Linked DNA regions of Homo sapiens: regions 2 and 3 are each linked to region 1. Evidence: promoter capture Hi-C in 16 types of primary human blood cells and fetal thymus (Javierre and others, 2016). All regions are on one chromosome and are shown on one strand. The core of a region is centred on a gene start or on the middle of the fragment in contact, and the rest is flanking DNA. Distances in the headings are between cores, read along the strand shown. Region 1 holds the start of TFEB (transcription factor EB). Region 2 overlaps GUCA1ANB-GUCA1A (GUCA1ANB-GUCA1A readthrough). Region 3 overlaps C6orf132 (chromosome 6 open reading frame 132).

The links. The method cuts DNA at HindIII sites, captures the fragments that hold promoters and counts their contacts. A CHiCAGO score of 5 or more calls a contact.
Region 2: a fragment that was not itself captured here is called in contact with the fragment with the promoter of TFEB in region 1 in 2 of 17 cell types (total CD8 T cells and non-activated CD4 T cells); the score reaches 5.5 in total CD8 T cells.
Region 3: a contact is called between a fragment that was not itself captured here and the fragment with the promoter of TFEB in region 1, in 1 of 17 cell types (naive CD8 T cells). The highest score is 5.0, in naive CD8 T cells.

Annotation. Positions count from the first base shown.
Region 1 is chr6:41,733,776-41,738,311 of GRCh38, reverse strand. It overlaps TFEB (transcription factor EB), which reads left to right and starts at 2,704. Exons shown (of 9, transcript NM_001271944.2): 1 at 2,704-2,962. PGC (progastricsin) reads left to right here. Exons shown (of 9, transcript NM_002630.4): 8 at 484-582; 9 at 1,308-1,601. The coding sequence ends at 1,460. RefSeq lists silencers at 2,546-3,015, 3,056-3,585, 3,716-4,155. The HindIII fragment of the contact is 28,952 bases long and covers 1-4,536 here.
Region 2 is chr6:42,168,962-42,173,497 of GRCh38, reverse strand. GUCA1ANB-GUCA1A (GUCA1ANB-GUCA1A readthrough) reads right to left here. Exons shown (of 5, transcript NM_001319062.2): 2 at 1-165. It overlaps GUCA1A (guanylate cyclase activator 1A), which reads right to left and starts at 134. Exons shown (of 4, transcript NM_001384910.1): 1 at 1-134. The HindIII fragment of the contact is 1,549 bases long and covers 1,419-2,967 here.
Region 3 is chr6:42,136,583-42,141,118 of GRCh38, reverse strand. The region is part of intron 1 of C6orf132 (chromosome 6 open reading frame 132); the gene reads left to right. Among named protein-coding and RNA genes, the nearest start is that of C6orf132, 3.8 kb to the left of the region's middle. RefSeq lists enhancers at 4,225-4,464, 4,160-4,536. The HindIII fragment of the contact is 2,308 bases long and covers 1,501-3,808 here.

The DNA.
Region 1 (4,536 bases), core at 1,455-3,954:
GGGCATCATGGCTCATGCCTGTGTATGTGTGTGTGTGTGTGTGTGTGCATATATATATATGCATATATATATACATATATATATGCATATATATATGCATATATATATGCATATATATATGCATATATATATGTATATATATATGCATATATATGTATATATATATGCATATATATATGCATATATATGTATATAGGCACTTGCAGAGAAAGAGCAGAGGTTCGATCTTTAATATGGGAAATCGAGGCAAGAGGAGTTAGGAGGCTCTGGGATCACTCCAAATCACACCCATTCTATGAGTCCATGGGATAATGCCAGCATTACCTACACAGGACTTTCCCTTGGAGCTGCATTCTCTAGTCCAAAAACAGGCTTAGGGCTTGGGCCCGGAGCTCAGGCCTGGGATCCAGGGGCTGAGATGATGGGGCTGGTGGGTGCTATCAGGGGGAGGATGAGTTAACCAGGGACCTATTCCTCTTGCAGTTTCTCGTGAACTGTAACAGCATTCAGAATCTGCCCAGCTTGACCTTCATCATCAATGGTGTGGAGTTCCCTCTGCCACCTTCCTCCTATATCCTCAGTGTAAGTCCTGGTCCCTGCAGGCTGAGCCACCATGATTGGGGTTGGGAGGAAGGGCTGGGGAGCCAGAAATGCTGGGTCTCCTGCCTTGTGCCATTTTCCGACTCCACGCTTGTACTCATTTATCTTCCCCACTCATTGATTCTAAACCCCCTTCTCTGGAACAAGGCTATGAAATAGAAGATTGTCATCTATGATCAATTATTATTAATTAGTGGGGAGAGGCACTGGGCTCTTTGTTGAGCACTTACTAGGGCAGACCACTGTGCAAAGCACTTTGCTTCATGATCCCATTTAATTGTCACAGTATTTAATGAGGGAGATACTCATTTCTGTTTTACAAATGAAAACTTGGAGGTTCAGAGAGGTTGAGTAACTGACTCAAGGCGACACAGCTAAGGTTTGAATTCAAGTTGGTTTGGCTCCAAGGTTTAACCACCAGGCTGATCTGCTCCAAATTGGGAGCAGGAGGGAGGTCTGTGGGAAGAGAAGTTTCCCATCATGGGGAGAGGAGACCCTGCTGAGGACCACGGCAGCCTGAATGTACCTGTTCCAGAAATCCTCCCACCCGCTCTGCTCTGGTGGCTCAGTTGGCCTATGAGCCCTCAAGGCAGAGACCCTGGCTCCCTCAGCTCTGCACTTGTGCTCCCAGCCCAGGGCTCAGAGCTGAGCAGGGCCCAGCTCATGTGTGGACAAATGAATGAGTGCTGCCTTTCTTTGTTGAGCAGAACAACGGCTACTGCACCGTGGGAGTCGAGCCCACCTACCTGTCCTCCCAGAACGGCCAGCCCCTGTGGATCCTCGGGGATGTCTTCCTCAGGTCCTACTATTCCGTCTACGACTTGGGCAACAACAGAGTAGGCTTTGCCACTGCCGCCTAGACTTGCTGCCTCGACACGTGGGCTCCCCTCTTCCTCTTGACCCTGCACCCTCCTAGGGCATTGTATCTGTCTTTCCACTCTGGATTCAGCCTTCTTTTTCTGGACTCTGGACTTTCTCTAATAATAAATAGTTCTTCTTTATGTTGGTCATCCTGTTGTTTTTGGAAGGGAGTTTTCCCTGAGTGGCTACAAGGTTTCCTGGTGGGTCACTGTGATTCTAAGAGAAATGGGACCTAAGGCATGGCTTGGGATGGGCTCTGTAACCCTCAGAGCTTAAAGTTCATACTTTTCCCCTGGAAAGGGAAGACAGTGGTAGCGCCATCATGGGTGGGTGGGTGGCGGGCCGGGGGAGAGTGTTCCTACTTGAGTCACAGAGAAATCGAGCCTATTTGCTGGAACCAACTCAGCAAGGGATCTTGTCCCTTTGGACTTCATCCCTGTCCTCCTCAGGAGCCTCTTAGCAAAAGATCCAGAAACCAGGAGCAACATTGTATGTGGGGAAGGAGGAGAGAGAGGAAGAAAAGGAGGAGGGGAAGGAGAAGAAAAGCAGGGGAGGGGCTGGGGGAGGAGACAGGGAAAAAGGGGCGGGGAAGAGGAGAAAGTAGAGAATGATGCCTCCGCACCCTGTGAACTTCCAACAAGGGAAGGTGACATGAAAGGAGCTCAGACAATTTCTGTCCAGCAACATGACAGCAAGCTCAGGCTGGTGAGTGGGGCGTGAATGTAGAACCCATAATGGGGGCAGGCTGCCTTCTACTGTCATATTTTACCCTGTACTTCGCCAGGCTCACCCTGGCCTTGCCCCTTATGATCGGGGCAGGGATAAAAGTGCAAGATCCAGGTCCTGCACCCTACTCCTGAAGAGAAGCTGGAATTTGCCACAGGTGGAGTTTCTATGGCAACAGCACACCATCTGGGACCCTCTCTTTCTTAGACTGCCGAAGGACAGCAGGCTGCAGGTTCCTTTTAGGGGGTCGGACAGGCTACAGAATGTATCTTAGTGAGCCCTGGTTTGGGACTTTACTGAGAGGAGAAAGAAAACTTGCAAAGAGGTAGAAGTGGATCAGAGGTTCCAAGTCAAGAGCCTCTTTCCCTGTAAGCCTTAGTCCGCTGAGCGGGACTACAAATCCCGGCGTGCCTAGCGGGACTGCAGCGAGAACTACGCTTCCCAGTGGGCGCCGAGGCAGAGCGGCTGGGAGGCGGGGCGGGTGCTGCCCTCTGCCGGGCGCGGAGGGAAGTGTGCGTGGAGTGACAGCCGGAGCCCGGGCGCCGGGCGCGGGGCTCGGTGACAGCGGAGGCGGCGGCCCGGGCGGGACGCAGGGAGCGGCCGCGGCGCCGACGGCGGCGGGAAGGGCGGACGGGGCGGGCCTCCCTGGTGGCACGGGGCCGGAGCAGGCCGGGAGCAGGTGGCGGGCACAGCTTGCGGGCCAGGCACCCGAACTTGCGACAAGTTGCCGGAGCCGCGGGGCGCGGGCGGCGGACAGATTGACCTTCAGAGCGAGGTGAGCGGGACCGGGGAGCGAGAGGCACGAGGAGGGCCCGGGACCCCCGACCCAGGCTCCCTGGCCCCTATCCCGTGGGTCCCGGAGACAGGTGGGAGGGTGGGGGATGCCGGCAGGAGAGGGAAGCAGGACCGTGCGCGCCGCCACCCACCCGCAGTCCGTCCGCCCCCGGGCGCCCAGCGCGTGGCCCGAGCGGCGCTGCCCGCCGAGCCGGGAGCCCCCTCGGCCCCTCCCTTCAGGCGCGGGCCGGGGGCGGCTTCTCCGCGACCTTATGTAACCGGGCGGGAGGGGCCGGGCGGGCATGGGCCTTCCCGGCCCGGAGCTGGGAGTCGAAGGGGCGGGAGGCGTGATGGTGAACTCGCAAGAAGTTTGAGGGACGCGCGGGCCCCGCGCCCACTCCCCCTCCACCGGACACGGCTGGGGCCGGCGATGCCTGAGAGGGGGTCGGAGGTAGGGGAGGTGTGCGGGGGCTGAGTCTGGCCAGGCCAGCGGGGGGAGTGGGAGGGCCAGAGCGGCGCCACGCCCCGGGGGCTGGGCTGATGGGGGGGCGGGTGGAAGTACCATCTCTCCCTCCCTTCCCGTCCCTTCCTCCAGCTCGGTCTCTTGAAGAAGCCGCCCCTGGCCCCGTCCCCTCGAGTCCCTGGGCAGTCTCTTTCTCCCCGTGGGTTATTCTATGACCCTGGGGAACACCAACCCCGGAGCGCTCCCTCCGTGCGCCCCGTTGTCTGCCTCCCCCCGGGTTCCCAGCTGCCTGCCCGCCCCCCGAGTTTCCCCCTCCCCCCGTCTCGGTCCCGAATCCCGGAAAACACGCCCCCTTCCCCCCGATCCCCCGAGTCCGTGCCGCCCACCCCTGGGCTGTCCCGACCAGCTCTGGCCCAGCGCGTCCGCTCGCCTCCTGGAAGGGAGCGGGCAGATGCCAGCTCGGCCCCCTCCCCGCGCGGGGTTCCGGCTTCACGCACGGCTGCCCCGAGCTGCTCCGGGCTGCGCGAGCAGGTTCGCGCCGCAGCCGCCTGGCGCGCCCCAGCCCCGCGCCCCGGGTGAGGAAGGGAGGGAGCCCGGGGCGGGGCTTGTCTGCGCGAACCCCGCTGGGCCCAGGCCCCCGCCCTCCGCTCTCCGCCAGCCCCTGGCCGCTGCGCCTTCCCCCGAACCCCCCTCAGCTCCAGCCGTCGTTCTCTCGCCTGTCTGTTCTGGGGACGGTTCAGCGCGGAGCTTCTGCACTCAACTTGAGCGCAGTTTTTGGCTTAGAGCTCGCTGGGGAAGTGCAGGTTAATTACTGCCCAGCTCCCATCCTCTGCCCTCCCCCCATCCCGAGTGAGGGGCTGCTTCATCCCTCAGGGAAAGGGACAAGACGGATGCAGGCCCCCAGTGACACCTCTGGGGTGTGGCCTCAGGCCCCTGCACCCGCCCTGGCCGAGATTCCATTGGCCCAGACCTGGCACTGTTGGGCAGCTGGGGATGAGGTTGGAGGCTGGTCTCTGGTTTCCTTCTGGGTGGACAGATGCGGATGCGCTCGGTTAGAACGCAGTTCTTGGTGCCACGACTGGGAGACAGTCCTCAGGCCCTCCCCTCAGGGA
Region 2 (4,536 bases), core at 944-3,443, 440 kb before region 1:
AGGCCTGAGCAAAGAAGGGCCTGATGGATCAGATGGTACCGGGAAATGTGGAGAGGGAGAGAGCAGAAGGAAGAAGATGATGGCCCACACTCAAACTCACAGATGCCAGAGAACTGGTGTTAAGAGTCTCCACTAAATCCTTGCAGCCCCAGGGGAGACTGTACCCTGGAGAAAAGAGTTGAAAATAGAACAAGGCTTAGAGAAGCAGAGTCCTTAGGATTACAGCCTTGAGCTGTAGGTGAGAGGATTTTTTAACCCAGTTTGCAATCTTCTAATCCCTTCTTACCACCACGGAGTGGGTGTCAGCTAGAAGCTGCTCTGATCCTATGACCTTTGTGACCTTCTTCTCCTGGTTTGAGTGGATTCACAGTGGTTTTGGATTCTGCCTTCAATCATGGAATTGAGGTATATATGAGATAGAGCTGGCTTCTTGTCCAGAGATGGCCAACTGTGGGCTCTTGACAGGGCTGCTGTGTACAGTTATCCAGGCTGTGCACTGCACTTGGCCATCACAACTGAGGGGGTCCAATCATACCATGAGTGTGCTAACATTTGAGGGCACCTGGGTGGATGCAGAGTCTGTGGGCTTCCAAGATAAGCCTTGAACAGCCAGAGAGAACCCCCTCCTACATTAGCCTGCACCAGTACACAGAGACGTGCACACACATACACACACTCGTACACACTCATCCTGTTCTGGCCACACTCTCATGTTCCTGAAGGTTGCATCTCTCCCTTCTTGAGAGCCCTGAATTCATCCTTCCATCTAATTCTGAGCCTCACATCATCACCATCACCTACTAGGGGCACAGGGCAGGGGACATGGAGTGTGCGCCTGGTGCCCTGGGGTATGTGTGAGTGTGAGAGTGCAGGCACACAGGTGCATGGGTGAGCTGCTACCTGCTGGTCCTGGAAAGCTCCCAGGCCAAGCCTGGGGGCCTGTCTATGCAGCAACAGCTTTCTCTGATGCCTGGTGGGATGCGTACTCCCTAGCCACACACTTAAAAGCTGGCTCATTTATGGAACCAGCATTTGGGTGCAGGTGCACTTAACCTGGATGCTGCCAGGAAAGCTTAAAGCCAGCGCTTGCCCTGCCCTGTCTTTTTCTCTTGTTTGCCTTCCTCCTTTACATATGGGGCACACCCAGGTCTCCTAACTCATCTAGAGGGAACCACTGCCCATATTTCTGCTTTCCCCACCAGGGCCTTGGACACTTGGTCAAGTTGTGCACTGATACACAATTTATATGATTTATATAAATAATATATAATTACATGTAAATAGATTTATATAAATATACAATTTATACAACATATAACATATATCAAATACATGTGCATACATATTTCAGAATGGGCTAGGTTATGCTACAGTAACAAACCACTCTAAAATCTCAGTGGCTGAAAACAATACAAGCTTGTTTCTTGCTTACATTACTGGCTGGGTGACCTTGAGCAAGTAACTTAACCTCTCTGGGCCCCAGTTTCCTCATTCTTAAAATAGGAATAATGGCGCCCATCTGATAGGGCTGTTAAGGGGAGTAAGTGGGGCTGGGCACGGTGGCTCACACCTGTAATCCCAACATTTTGGGAGGCCGAGGCGGGTGGATCACTTGAGGCCAGGAGTACGAGACCAGCCTGGCCAACATGGTGAAACCTCATCTCTATTAAAAATACATAAATTAGCCAGGCGTGATGGTGCACACTCCTGTAATCCCAGCTACTCGGGAGGCTGAGGCAGGAGAATCGCTTGAACCCAGGAGGCGGAGGTTGCAGTGAGCCAAGATCGCACCACTGCACTCCAGCCTGAATGACAAAGCGAGACCCTATCTCAAAAAAAAAAAAAAAAAAGAGTATGTGAGTTAATATAAGAAAAGCATTTAGAACAAGGTCTGCCCCAGAGTAAGTGCCCCATAAATCTTGGCTATGATGTTATGATTTTGTATCTATTACAGCAGCATGTCTGATGTGCTGTTCACTACAATCTAGGTGCACTTATACTGCATCTTGGACACAGCAGCATCCCTGGGTTAGAGCCAATCGTGCTCTTGTCCCTTTAGCCCCATTCACTCTGGGCCCTGGACGGCCAGAAGGGCTATGTGTAGGAACAGACATCCAACCTGCCTCACACAGGCCACCTACCAGCTGTAGTCAGGCCCTAGGGAAGGTGGAGGCCTTTGTTAAAGCCTTACCAGATCCAGGCTCACGCCTGTAATCCCGGCACTTTGGGAGGCTGAGGCGGGTGGATCACAAGGTCAGGAGTTCGAGACCAGCCTGGCCAACATGGTAAAACCCCATCTGTACTAAAAATACAAAAATTAGCCAGGCATGGTGGTGGGCGCCTGTAATTCCAGCTACTTGGGAGGCCGAGGCAGGAGAATCACTTCAACCTGGGAGGCGGAGTTTGCAGTGAGCCGAGACTACGCCATTGCACTCCAGCCTGGGCGACAGAGAGAGACTCCATCTCAAAAAAAAAAAAAAAAATTGTTCATAATGAACATATGTTGCTCACAAAATCAAAGAGGATAGTTATTTTTGAAAAAGAGACAAACTGGGACTGTTTTACCTCTACTCCACATGAATTGATTGACGGAAGGTATATGGGGGTGGGGAGCTGGGTTCTCCCTGCTTCAGTCAGCTTCTCCACAACAAGTTAAGGGACGGGGAGAGAAGGACTCCTTCTGTGAACTTGCTTGGGGCCCAGCTGGAAAATGTGTCCTTGCCGAGGACTCTCAGGCCCAAGATTGGGAAATGAAGAGGTTGGGGACAAGGCAGCCGCTCATCTTTCCCTTTCTATTTAAATCCCTCTCACTCTTCATGTGTGAGTACAAATGCCACCTCCTCTGTGAAGCCTTCCCAAATCTCTCTCAAATATCTTCCTCCCACAGCATACTGACATTTTGCTTATGTGTTGTGACAGTTAATTTTAGGACTGGATGAAGGGATTACCCAACAAGCTGGTAAAGCTTTATTTCTGGGTGTTTCTGTGAGGGTGCTTGCCAAAGAGACTGGCATTTGAATTCATGGACTAAGTAAGGAGAATCTGCCTTCAGCCTATGTGGGTGGGCACCATCCAATTGGCTTAGGCCTGGACAGAAGAAAAAGGCAGGGGAAAGGTGAATTCTCTCCCTCTCTCTCTCTCTCTCTGTCCTGGAGCTGGGACACTCTTCTTCTCCTGCCCTTGGACTCCAGGACTTGCACCAGTAGCAACCCCTCCCCACTCTCACGTTCTCAGTCCTTCAGCTTCAGACCCAGAGTTACACCATCAGTTTCCTTGGCTCTGAACCCTTTGGGCTTGAACTGAGCCATGCTACTGGCTTCCCTGGTTCTCCATCTTGCAGATGGCATATTGTGGGACTTCTCAGCCTCCATAAACATGTGAGCCAATCCCCCTAATAAATCTTCTCTCATACCTCTATATATAATCCTATTAGCTCTGTCTCTCTGAAGAACTCTGGCTAATGTGTGTGTTATATTAGTTTTCTATGTTGCATAACAAATAACCACAAAGTCAGCAGTTTTAAAACTACACACATTTATTATTATTATTATTATTATTATTATTATTATTATTATTATTATTTTGAGATGGAGTTTCACTCTTGTTGCCCAGGCTAGAGTACAATGATGCGATCTCGGCTCAGCACAACCTCCTGCCTCCCAGGTTCAAGCAATTCTCCTGCCTCAGCCTCCTGAGTAGCTGGGATTACAGGCATGTGCCGCCATGCCCCACTAATTTTGTATTTTTAGTAGAGACAGGGTTTCTCCATGTTGGTCAGGGTGGTCTCAAACTCCCGACCTCAGGTGATCCACCTGCCTCAGCCTCCCAAAGTGCTGCGATTACAGGCATGAGCCACCGTGCCTGGCCACACATTTATTATCTCACAGTTTCTATGGGCCAGGAGTCCAGGCACAGCTTAGCTGGTCCTCTGCCTAGCGTCTCACAAGGCTGCTCTCAGGGTGTCACCTGGGCTGTATTTTCATCTGGAGGCTCAACTGGGGAAGAATCCACTTCCAACTTATTCAGGTTGTTGGCAGAACTCATTTTGTTGTGGCTATGTGACAAGGGAGCTGGCTTTTCACTTGACATTGCCTGGGGGACACACTCAGGTCATAGAGGCTGCCCTCTGTTCCTTGTTACACCAGCTTCCTCACCACGCTGCTTATTTCATCAAGTCAGCGAGAAGAGTCTCTCTGCAATCTGCTAAAGTCTATATAACCTAACATAATCCACAGAGAGACGTCCCATCACCTTTGCCATATTCTATGGGTTAGAATCAAGTCAAGGGCCTCACCCACACTCAAAGGGAGAGAATTTTACAAAGGTAGGAACAACAGGAGGTAGAAATCACTGGGGTCACCTTAGGGTCTATTATGACATTCACTCTTCTACAATAACACGGACATAGCATTCATTTCTTTCCAGAAGTATTATATAGGCAACTCTTCTTGCCAGCCTGCTCTAAGGAACCCAGCAAGCTCACAGAGGGTGGAGACCATTCTGTTATTTGTGTCTCGCCTGCCCCCAGCTCCTGGC
Region 3 (4,536 bases), core at 1,405-3,904, 400 kb before region 1:
AACAGAACTAACCATATGCCATTTAGCCCTTTCTGAGCCTTTGCTGTAAATGATTATTAAGCATAAAAGCAAAGAAGAGAGATGACCTCTGAGTGGAACTAGCATTCGAGCTGACAGGAGAGGGCATTCCTGGCAAAACAAACAGTAGAAGCAAAGACCAGGAGGAGCAGGGCAAGTGGAGGCATGGTGTAGGCACTCCCAGACACAGGTGTGCAGGCAAGTGCCTGTGAGCCAGGACACTTCTTTCCCTCTCAACGGAGGCACCATGGAAAGACCATTTATTAATCCCTTCTTAGGTGCAAGATGCCATTCTAAAATCTTTGTGTTACTGATTCATTGAAATCTCATCTAGAGTCAGGCACTATTATTGTCATTCCTGTTTGACAGATGAGGAGACTGAGGCACAGGGAGGTTAAGTAATATGCCCAAGATCATACAGCTTTCAATGCTGGAGGCAGCATTTTTCTAAGTCCACAATTCAATGATTTTTAGTAGACCATTTACACAGAGTTGTGCCATTATCACCACCATCTGGTTTTAGAACATTTCGATGACCTCCAAAATCTCCCTTGTGAGGCAGAACTAGTATTTGAATCCAGGCAGTCAGGCTCCAGAGATCACACTCTTAGCGGGTTTGCTGAATTAACTCTGCAGAGGAAGGCGATCCAAGTTTACTTGAGGGGCATCTGCCTGGAAAATACCACACACATACACACACACACACCCTTCCTCCCTCAAGGGGAGACCTCAGCCATGCCTCTCAGCCACGCCTCTCAGCCACTTCTGCATTTTGCCTAGGCTGTGCAGGCTGCTAGTGGGCATCAGCACCTCTGGTGAGGGAAGAGGGCCTGGTGCCCTGTCATCTCCAGCCAGCTGCTGCCCTCATCAGCCTGGGCAGAGCTGGAGTCCAAAGGACAGCTCCTCCCGTTCCTCAAGGCAGGGCTGGGCCTCCAGCTGACTCAGCTTGGTCTTGCCTGCACAAGGAGCCATGGAAAACATCATGCACCCAGCAGAACAGCGCCTCAGTGTTTCCGGGGTGTTCCCTGGGGTGCCACTGGGCGTGGCAGAAGTCCTCCCTGCTCTGCTTGGAGTTAGGGAGAGGAGGGACCAGTGTTGGGGATTCTGTGATGGGATGCAGGTGCAGCCCTGCCTTGGCATCCTGTCTCTGTCAATACATAGGGCTAAGCACTCTCTGGGCCTCAATTTTTTCTTCTGTTAAAGGGGATAGTGTCCAGGCTGCCTGCAGGGTAACTGCCTGAAGCGGTATTTATGGTAGTGCTTTGAAGAGCATTAAAACAAAAAGCTCTAAACAGGGTGTCCAATCTTTTGGCTTCCCTGGGTCACATTGGAAGAAGAATTGTCTTGGGCCACACATAAAATACACTGACACTAACAATAGCTGATGAGCTAAAAAACAAAACAAAAAAACGCAAAAAAAAACCCCTCATAATATTTTAAGAAAGTTCACTAATTTGTGTTGGGCCATGGGTTGGACAAGCTTGCTCTAAAGCAAGGATTGGCAAACTACAGTCCTGGCTCCATTCTGGCCCATGGCCTGCTTTGAGGAATAAAGTTTTATTAGAACATAACCAACTATGCCCCTCATTTACATATGGTCTATGGCTAGAGTTGAGTAGCTACAAAAGAGACCTTATGGCCTGCAAAGGCTAACATATTTACTATCTGGCCCTGTACAGAAAAAGTTTACTGGCCCCTCCTCTAAGGCATGATTTATTATTGGATCGTTCCCAGCATGGAGCACTTCCTGCCCTTGCCTGCTTCAGCTCCTCTTCCTAACACTGCTGTAGAATAGAGGAAACTGAGCCATGAAAAGACTATTTCAAAGTCTCAGAGAGAGTGGGATTAGAGTTCCATAGGGCCCCTGAGTCTGTGACATTCCCCTCAAGCCTGGGGTGAGATGCTGGCGATATCCAGCCCTTAGAGAACAGGCGGTGGAATGGAAGGGAGGAAAATCAATGTAGGGATGTGTAAGGGAATTAAGGAGTAATCAACTGTTTGCTCTGTGGTTGCAGCCATGTAAAAATCTGTTTGCACAAGGGTAGGCTGGGTACAGCGGGTAAATGCAAACAGTCATGTGAGAGTGGTGATGAGCAAAAAAATTTTCTTTACAGAATTTCTCTAATATGTATTCCAGCAATTAGGAGGGCTTCACTGAATGCATTTGCAATCCTAACAAAGTCTTCTGCCCTCTCCCAGCCCAAGCAAGGCCACACGAGTGTGTGTGTGTGTGTGTGTGTGTGTGTGTGTTTAAATGCATGAGAAAGCAGAGATGTGGATCTTCGCAAATCCCAAGATAAAGGACTGGGCTGTTACTGGAGACAAAGCTGCCAGTCACTCAGGACTCCTCCCTTGCATCTTGGATTAACTGAGCCAAGATTCTTTATCTACCACCGCTGCACCCGCCACCAGCAATGGGACACCCTTGTTTGCTAGAGGACTCTCTTTCCTACCCCGTTCCTCTAAATGGGACAGCTCACAGCTACCTCAGACATTTATTTGAAATGCAGATTCTGGGCTGGGCGGTGGCTCACGCCTGTAATCCCAGTGCTTTGGGAGACTGAGGCAGGTGGATCATGGGAGTTTGAGGGCAGCCTGGGCAACATGGCAAGATCCTGTTGTCTCTACTAAAAATACAAAAATTTGCCAGGCTTGGTGGCATGCACCTGTAGCTGCAGCTACTCAGGAGGCTGAGGCGGGAGGACTGCTCGAGTTCAGGAGGCAGAGGTTGCAGAAAGCCAAGATTGCGCCACTGCACTCCAGCCTTGGTGGCAGAGCGAGACCCTGTTTCAAAACAAAAAACAAAAACAAAAACAACCCCAGCACTTTGGGAAGCCAAGGCAGGAGGATTGCTTGAGCCTGGGAGATAGAGGCTGCAGTCAGCTATGATGGCACCACTGCACTCCAGCCTGGGTGACAGAGCAAGATCCTGTCCTCCCCCACCCAAAAAAATTAATTTAATTAATTTCAAATTCCTAGGGTCCCACCTCAGGCACAGGAAGTCAGAATCTCTGGGCTAGGGTCTGGGCTCTGGGGGTTTTTTGAGACGGAGTCTCGATCCGTTGCCAGGCTGGAGTGCAGTGGCACGATCTCGGCTCACTGCAACCTTCTACCTCCCGGGTTCAAGCGATTCTGCTGCCTCAGCCTCCCCGGCCTGCGCCACCACACATGGCTATTTTTGTATTTTTAGTAGAGACGGGGTTTCACCATGTTGGCCAGGATGGTCTCGATCTCCTGACCTCGTGATCCACCTCCCCCGCCCCGCCCCGCCCCGCCCCGCCCCCGCCCCTGCCTCGGCCTCCCAAAGTGCTGGGATTTACAGGCGTGAGCCACCGCGCCCAGCCTTTGGGCTCTGGGTTTTTAACCAGCTCCAGGGGAATTGTTTTGTGCGGGAAGATATGAGAATCCTGGTATTTCCTTCCCCACATGGAGCAAGGCTATTCTCTTTCCCTTTAGGACTCCCTGCAGGGCACATGGTAGGTTCTACATAAATATGGAAAGAATGTCACCAGCTCCTTATCAGGAGGACCCTCGTGCCCTCTGGTGTGGCTGCAGGTTCTGGTGTTCCTGTTCCCTGGGTCTCCTGACCCTTTGTTTCAGGCCCGGCTAAAGAGTGGGAAACTCCCACCTCCTACCCCGGGAGTCAGGAGCTGAGCATATATTTCCAACCAGGGCCAGGCTGGCACCAGCCTACCAACTTTTGTTTACTCCTGTTCCCTGGAGGTGTGCTGTGGTTTGCCGGCAGTCCAGTGCACACATATACACCCTCCGCCGCCCCATTGTATAAGCTTCTCTTGTCACTCTAGTTCAACTCCAGAAAGCCAGGCCTGCCCTTGACCCCTACAGACCAGCTACAAGGTGCCCCTTCTCTCCTAGCCAATAGAGTAATGACAGTAATGTAATTATTGTCACCAGGCTCTGGACTAAAAGCTTTGAATGTCTTCTCAATTGAGGAAACAGACTCAGAAGCAAGGCTCAGATAGGTGAAATGACTCAGCCATTCCAGTCCGGGGTAGCTCAAACATCAAAGTGCACCCAGTCATCTGGAATCTTGTTAAGATTAGATTTGTTTCGGTAGTTTCGGGATGAAGGGAGAGTCAGCATTTCTCACAAGTTCTGGGGTCTGCACACTGAGTGGCGAGTCCTAGCTTGGAAGCCGAGGGCCCTGTTCACTCTGCTCCTCCCCCTTAGTCCCACCTGCAGGGCTGGGGGGGCGGCGCCATTCTGTTCCGTTTCTGTTCCGTCCTCCTCTACTTTGTGGCTCCCTGCCCCTCCTCCCCTCCACTCCAGTCGAATCTTCAGCATCCCCTCTGCCCTTGGACAAAGGCCTCTCTCTGGTCCTCAGGTCAGGCCTGCTGGGACTTGCTGGGAAAGACTGGCCTTTTTAGGCTCCTGTCCTGTGGACTTGCTAATTAGCAAGGAAAGGCCTCATTAAAGCCATCTGTGAGTTACATTCACATGGGGCCGCCCCCGCTGCTTCCCTGAAAGGCAGGGGGTCCCCTAGTGGCCGATGATTGG